Regions from separate parts of the Homo sapiens genome. Here region 2 is linked to region 1. Evidence: promoter capture Hi-C in 16 types of primary human blood cells and fetal thymus (Javierre and others, 2016). All regions are on one chromosome and are shown on one strand. Each heading gives the region's core, a stretch centred on a gene start or on the middle of the fragment in contact. The rest is flanking DNA. Distances are from core to core; before and after follow the strand shown. Region 1 holds the start of NDUFS7 (NADH:ubiquinone oxidoreductase core subunit S7). Region 2 holds the start of TCF3 (transcription factor 3).

The links. Contacts are between HindIII fragments. The CHiCAGO score rates a contact against its expected background, and 5 or more counts as called.
Region 2: the fragment with the promoter of TCF3 here is called in contact with the fragment with the promoter of NDUFS7 in region 1 in 5 of 17 cell types (neutrophils, erythroblasts, M0 macrophages and 2 more); the score reaches 5.5 in neutrophils.

What each region holds. Positions count from the first base shown.
Region 1 is chr19:1,382,480-1,385,179 of GRCh38, reverse strand. NDUFS7 (NADH:ubiquinone oxidoreductase core subunit S7) reads right to left here and starts at 1,273. Exons shown (of 8, transcript NM_024407.5): 1 at 1,238-1,273. The coding sequence starts at 1,253. TRF-GAA1-6 (tRNA-Phe (anticodon GAA) 1-6) reads left to right here and starts at 1,746; the gene lies at 1,746-1,818. It overlaps TRN-GTT2-6 (tRNA-Asn (anticodon GTT) 2-6), which reads right to left and starts at 1,617; the gene lies at 1,544-1,617. RefSeq lists silencers at 1,144-1,203, 1,454-1,593, 1,774-1,903. The HindIII fragment of the contact is 18,765 bases long and covers 1-2,700 here.
Region 2 is chr19:1,651,277-1,653,976 of GRCh38, reverse strand. It overlaps TCF3 (transcription factor 3), which reads left to right and starts at 1,362. Exons shown (of 19, transcript NM_003200.5): 1 at 1,362-1,677. RefSeq lists enhancers at 624-733, 854-903 and silencers at 1,194-1,243, 1,254-1,383, 1,914-1,993, 2,084-2,313, 2,121-2,343 and 1 more. The HindIII fragment of the contact is 10,400 bases long and covers 1-2,700 here.

The sequences.
Region 1 (2,700 bases), core at 24-2,523:
GAATAAAAAAATATATATGTCTTTGTTGTCACCAGCATCTTATGGAAAATTAGCCCTTCATTCAATTCTTAGCGTAGGCTGGGTGCCGTGGCTCCCAGCACTTTGGGAGGCTCAGGTGGGAGGATTGCTTGAACTCAGAAGTTCGAGACCAGCCTGGGCAACAGGGCAAGACCCCCATCTCTACTAAAAATACAAAAACTAGCCAGGCATGGTGGCGCACACCTGTGGTCCCAGCTACACAGGACACTGAAGTGCCAGAATCGCTTGAGCCTGGGAGGCACAGGTTGCAGTGATGAGCCAAGATGGCACCACTGCACTCCAGTCTGAGCGACAGAGGCAGACCCTGTCTTAATAAATAAATAAAAAATTCTTAGCATAGACAACAAAATACGGCAGTATTAGCAGGACCTGTAACTTTTCACCAAGCGGAATCACAGATGTTTCCTAGCTATGGTGCAGGGGCTGCAGACGTTTCCGTATCATCAAAGCCTCATTTCCACTCCTCACTCCTTCCAAATCACAGTCGCAATTAGACCTGCCGCTAGATCGCGTTCATAAGGGAAGCACTTAGATTACTAAGTCGCCAATCAGGTTTCAAGACAATCTTTTAATAACTGCCTCTCCGTGTAACTGATTTCCTTGCAATTCTATGGATTTTATTCCATGCATTTAATAACTTTATCTGAGCAGAGGTCCGCAGGCTTCAGCTGATCCCAAAAAAGTCCCTGGAGCAGGACAGGCTCTGCGAGAGGCCCTTACCTCCCAGGGGTGGGGAGGGAGGTGGAGGGTCCAGCAGGGTGGCGTGGATGTCCTGGGTCCTGTTCCTTCCCAGGCCCGGCCCTGTGACCTCGAAGACCCTCAATGGGCCTCAGTTTCCCAGCCTGTCAGGCAGGCCCCGCTCTCTCCAGGGCATCTCAAGAGCAGCCTCGCGGGCCGTGCCCTGGTCTCGGGGACGTGAATGGGGCCCCTCCAGCCTCCACCCCGAGCGCCTTCCTGAGGCTGGAGGCTTGCGTCATGACCTACCGGGCCTCGGTTTCCCCGACTGTACTCTGGACGCAATAACGGCGACCGTTCATCGCAAGCCGGGCGGGGAGCCCGAGGAGCGGCCGGCTCGGAGAAGCCCGGAGAGGACCGCGGCCACGACGCCGGCACCGACCCCCGACGCCACCACGACACCCGAGGCTCCCACGGCCCCAGACCCGCGCGGCCCCACACCCGCCGCCGGTGCCGCGCTCACCTGACAGCACCGCCATCTTGGCCTCGGCCTTCAGACAACCTCTGAGGTCCGTTCTCCTTAGCGCTCCGGGTTCCCGGGGCCGCCGCCCAAAGCGGCTCGGAGCGCATGCGGAAACCGGAACCTGGAGCCGGGAGGTTCCGCTGCGCTTTCGGCCTCCGTGGTCGTGTTGCGCCGTGCACCCCCAGATCACCCGAGGCGGAAAGGTCATCGGAGTGCGCACGTGGGGGCCGCGGGTCTGCGGCGGACCGACAAAAACAGAGGCGACACTCATTTTCTTGTTATTCCAGGAGGGCAAAAGTCACCACGCGTCCCTGGGTGGGCTCGAACCACCAACCTTTCGGTTAACAGCCGAACGCGCTAACCGATTGCGCCACAGAGACGACACTGCGCTCCGGCGCCCTGGGAGACCTTACAAAGGATGTGGGGCCTGCTGACGCGAAACGACTGCGCCTGCGCAGGGAAGGCGCAGCGCGGGACGGAGTCCCGGCGAGAGCGACTCTGCCGCCCAGCCGAAATAGCTCAGTTGGGAGAGCGTTAGACTGAAGATCTAAAGGTCCCTGGTTCGATCCCGGGTTTCGGCAGAAGTTTTAGCGCCTCTTGCGATCACTGATGTCTTTCGTTCAGGATTGGTCCAGCTGCCTCGCAGCTATCCCGGACCCCTTACCGCAACATCACCGCATTCTGCAGAGGAGTCGCCGCGATGTGGACTCATCCCAAAGTAAGGGGGCTCAGACCTCACAACCCCAAAGCCTCCTCTTCCCACCCCTAAGAGGTCATAATTTCAGCTCAAACTTCCCCCTTCCCTGACACACCCTCGATTTTCCATCTTGCTTAAATTGATAAGTTTACAACCAGTACTAATGATATAAAAACTAACACTAAACACCCAAACTAGCAAAACAGAGTTTGCAGAACGCTTTCTGCATGCATATCATTTAATTTTCACAATTCCACTGGAGGTTTTGTCTGCCTGTTTTATGATTACAAAAACAGAGGCAAAGGCCGGTGCGGTGGTTCACGCCTGTAATCCCAGCACTTTGGGAGGCTGAGGCAGGCAAATCACCTGAGGTCAGGAGTTCAAAACCAACCTGGCCAATATGGTGAAACCCTGTATCTAAATCCCAGCTACTCGGGAGGCTGAGGCAAGAGAATCACTTGAATCCGGGAAGCGGAGGTTGCAATGAGCTGAGATCGTGCCACCGCACTCCAGCCTGGGCGACAGAGTGAGACTCCATCTCAAAAAAAAAAAAAAAAGAAAAAAGAAAAAGAAAAAGTAAAGAAAACAGAGGCTCAAATTAGGTGAACACAGGTGACTAGCAAGACTGGGGGCCCCTTGAGGACCACAACAAGTGTTTACTGAATTCGTGCCATGGGCTGGGGACCCACTGCTGAGCAAAGCCAGGCCTGGTCTCTGTTCTTGGGCAGCTCAAAAGGATTGGAGGGGCCCAGCATGGTGGCTCACA
Region 2 (2,700 bases), core at 113-2,612, 270 kb before region 1:
GCTGAGATTATAGGTGTATGCCACCACGCCCAGCTAATTTTTGTATTTTTATTTTATTTTACTTATTTATTTATTTATTTTGAGACGGAGTTTCGTCCTTGTTGCCCAGGCTGGAGTACAATGGCGTGCTCTCGGCTCATTGCAACCTCCGCCTTTCGGGTGAAAGCGATTCTGCTGCCTCAGCCTCCCGAGTAGCTAGGACTACAGGTGCCCGCCACCATGCCCGGCTAATTTTTGTATTTTTAGTAGAGATGGGGTTTCACCGTGTTGGCCAGAGAGGTCTCGAACTCCTGACTTCAGGTGATCTGCCCGCCTTGGCCTCCCAAAGTGCTGGGAATACAAGCGTGGGCCACCGCGTCCGGTCAACTTTTTAAATTATTATTTTAAATTATTTTAAATATTTTTAGAGACGGGTGTGGGTGGGGGGGGTTTCACTATGTTGTTCAGGCTGTTCTCGAACTCCTGGCCTCAAGCGATCTTCCCGCCTCGGCCTCCTTCAAAGCGCTGGGATCACAGGCAGGAGCCACGGCGCCCGATCCTAGGCGGGGTCACTTTTTACTAAAATGTAGACACGGACTACTAAGAATCAGGAAGCCAGATCTGGCCTGAGTTCTGTCCAAAGTCAGGTCCAAATTCACAGATGCCGAGACGGAGACTCAAGTCGGCAAAGGCACCGCTGAGACTCCCCGCGGGGCTCTCTGACCCAGAGCCGGAGCCAGAGTCGGTTTTCCCGCCGGGAAAATGGGTCTGACGTAGCCCCCTCGGGGCCGTGATACCCGCTCGCACCACTCAGCACGCGGGGCCGGCCCGAGGAACGCAAATATAACCAAGCAGAAGGCTCCGCGCGGGCGGCCACGCCAACCTGAGAACAAAACTCCAGGACCCACCCCGGCCGCCTCTCGCGGCCTCTCGCTCGCAGAGTCCCGCCTCTGCTGAGGGGCGGGGCCGAGAAGAAAGGAGGCGGGGCCTCACCACGAATGGCTAGGATCCCCGCCCATCAGACTTTCGCGGCTTCCGATTGACCAGACTGCTCTGCCTTAGCTTTCAATCTCACGGGCCTTACTCGCTTGCGTCATGGACTAAGCGCACAGCTCGTGTGTGCTTCCGCGGACGGGGATAGTCCGTGATTTCTCCCCGCGCCGTGGCCCGACCGCCTCCTCTGCGCGTCCCCGCTCCCAGGCTCTGGACCTCACGGGATTCGGGGTCCTCACGAGGGTGCTCGAGAGGCCGAGCTAGGGCGTTCGGGCCCGAGCCGCCCGGAGGTGGCGGAGGGATCCGCGTGGGCCGCCGGGCGGGGCACTCGGGGGCGGGGCAGGGGCGGGGCCTGCACGGGGCGGGGCGGGGCGGCGCGGGCGGGGGGCGGAACATGTCTCCCGCCGCAGGAAGATGAGGCAGCGGCGGCGGCTGCGGGCGTAGCGGGCCGGAGCCGACGCGGCGGCGGGCACCGCGGGCACCGCGCACGCCGCTGCCCCAGGGGCGCCCCGGCCGGCCGCGCGCACGGGCCCCGCGGGACGGGCCACGCGGGGGTGGGAGGGGCCCGGGCCACGCGCGCCGCCGCCGCCGCCCACGCGCGACCCTCGGGGGCCCGGCCGCGACGCACCTTTGTCCGGGGGGGGGCCCCCCCGCTTCATGCCGCCGCCCCCCCCCACGCGCCGCGTGCCCGGCCGCGCCCAGCAGGTGAGCCCGGCGGGGGGCGGGGGGCGCGCCCGGTACCCCCGTGCTTTGTGCCCAGGGAACCCCGGCCCGCCCCGCGCGCGCTTGTTGGGGGGGGGCGCGGAGGAAGTTGGGGCGGGGGCGGTGTCGGGGGGCGCCCCGCGGCCCGGGAGTCATTGTTCTCCAACTTCGCGCGGCGCCGGGGGGGCGGCGACGTGGAGGAGCCCGGAGCTCGCCAGGCCCGCGTCGCCCCCGTCGGGCCGGGCACTTCGGGAAACTTTAAGCAGCCCCGGGCGGGGGCGCGGGGGGCGCCGGACGGGCTGTGCAACTTAGGCGCGAGGACCGTCCCCCCCAGCCCGGGCGCACGGGGACCCCGGGGCGCCCCCTTTCTCGGGTAGAGGGGGGCCCGGCCCGGGCGCCGGAGTTTGGGGTGGGGAGCGCGCGGGAGGGACGTCCTTTTGTCTGCGCGGGGAAGGTGCCGCGCGCTGCAGGCGCTGGTCGGGGCCGGGCGGGCCGGGGGGGGGCGCGCGGGTAACATCTGCTCCGCGTTAATGCGGGGCGAGGCGGCGGCCGCGCTGCGAGCTTCAAAGGCTCCCGGGCCGCACCGCCTGCACCGGCTGCGGGGGGAGGGGGGTCCGGCTTCCCGGGCCGCCTCCCCCCGGGAAAAAGGCGTTCCAGCGCGCCCCCCGCCTTCGGCGCCGTGCAAAGTGGCTTCAAACATTCTCCAAGTCTCTCAAAGTCCTTGGGACGCCCCAGAAGTCTTCCAGCTCCCGTAGAATGCCCGTTTTAGCTCGCCACCCCCCCAACTAAGTCTGTCTTAAAATCGGTTTCAGCTACCCCACAAAAAAGTGCGGTTTCGTAGTCCTCAAAAAAAGTCAGTTTCACACGCCCTCCAAAAAAGAAAAAAACTGAGCGGGGGAGGGGCTGCGCTGGGGCGCCCGCTTCACACCCGGCCTCCAGTTGGCAGACAAAGAGGGGATTTCTCTGCTTCTGAAGTTGGGTCTCCCTCGACCTCGGAGGCTCCTCCCCACCCCCAGCCTCGGAGGT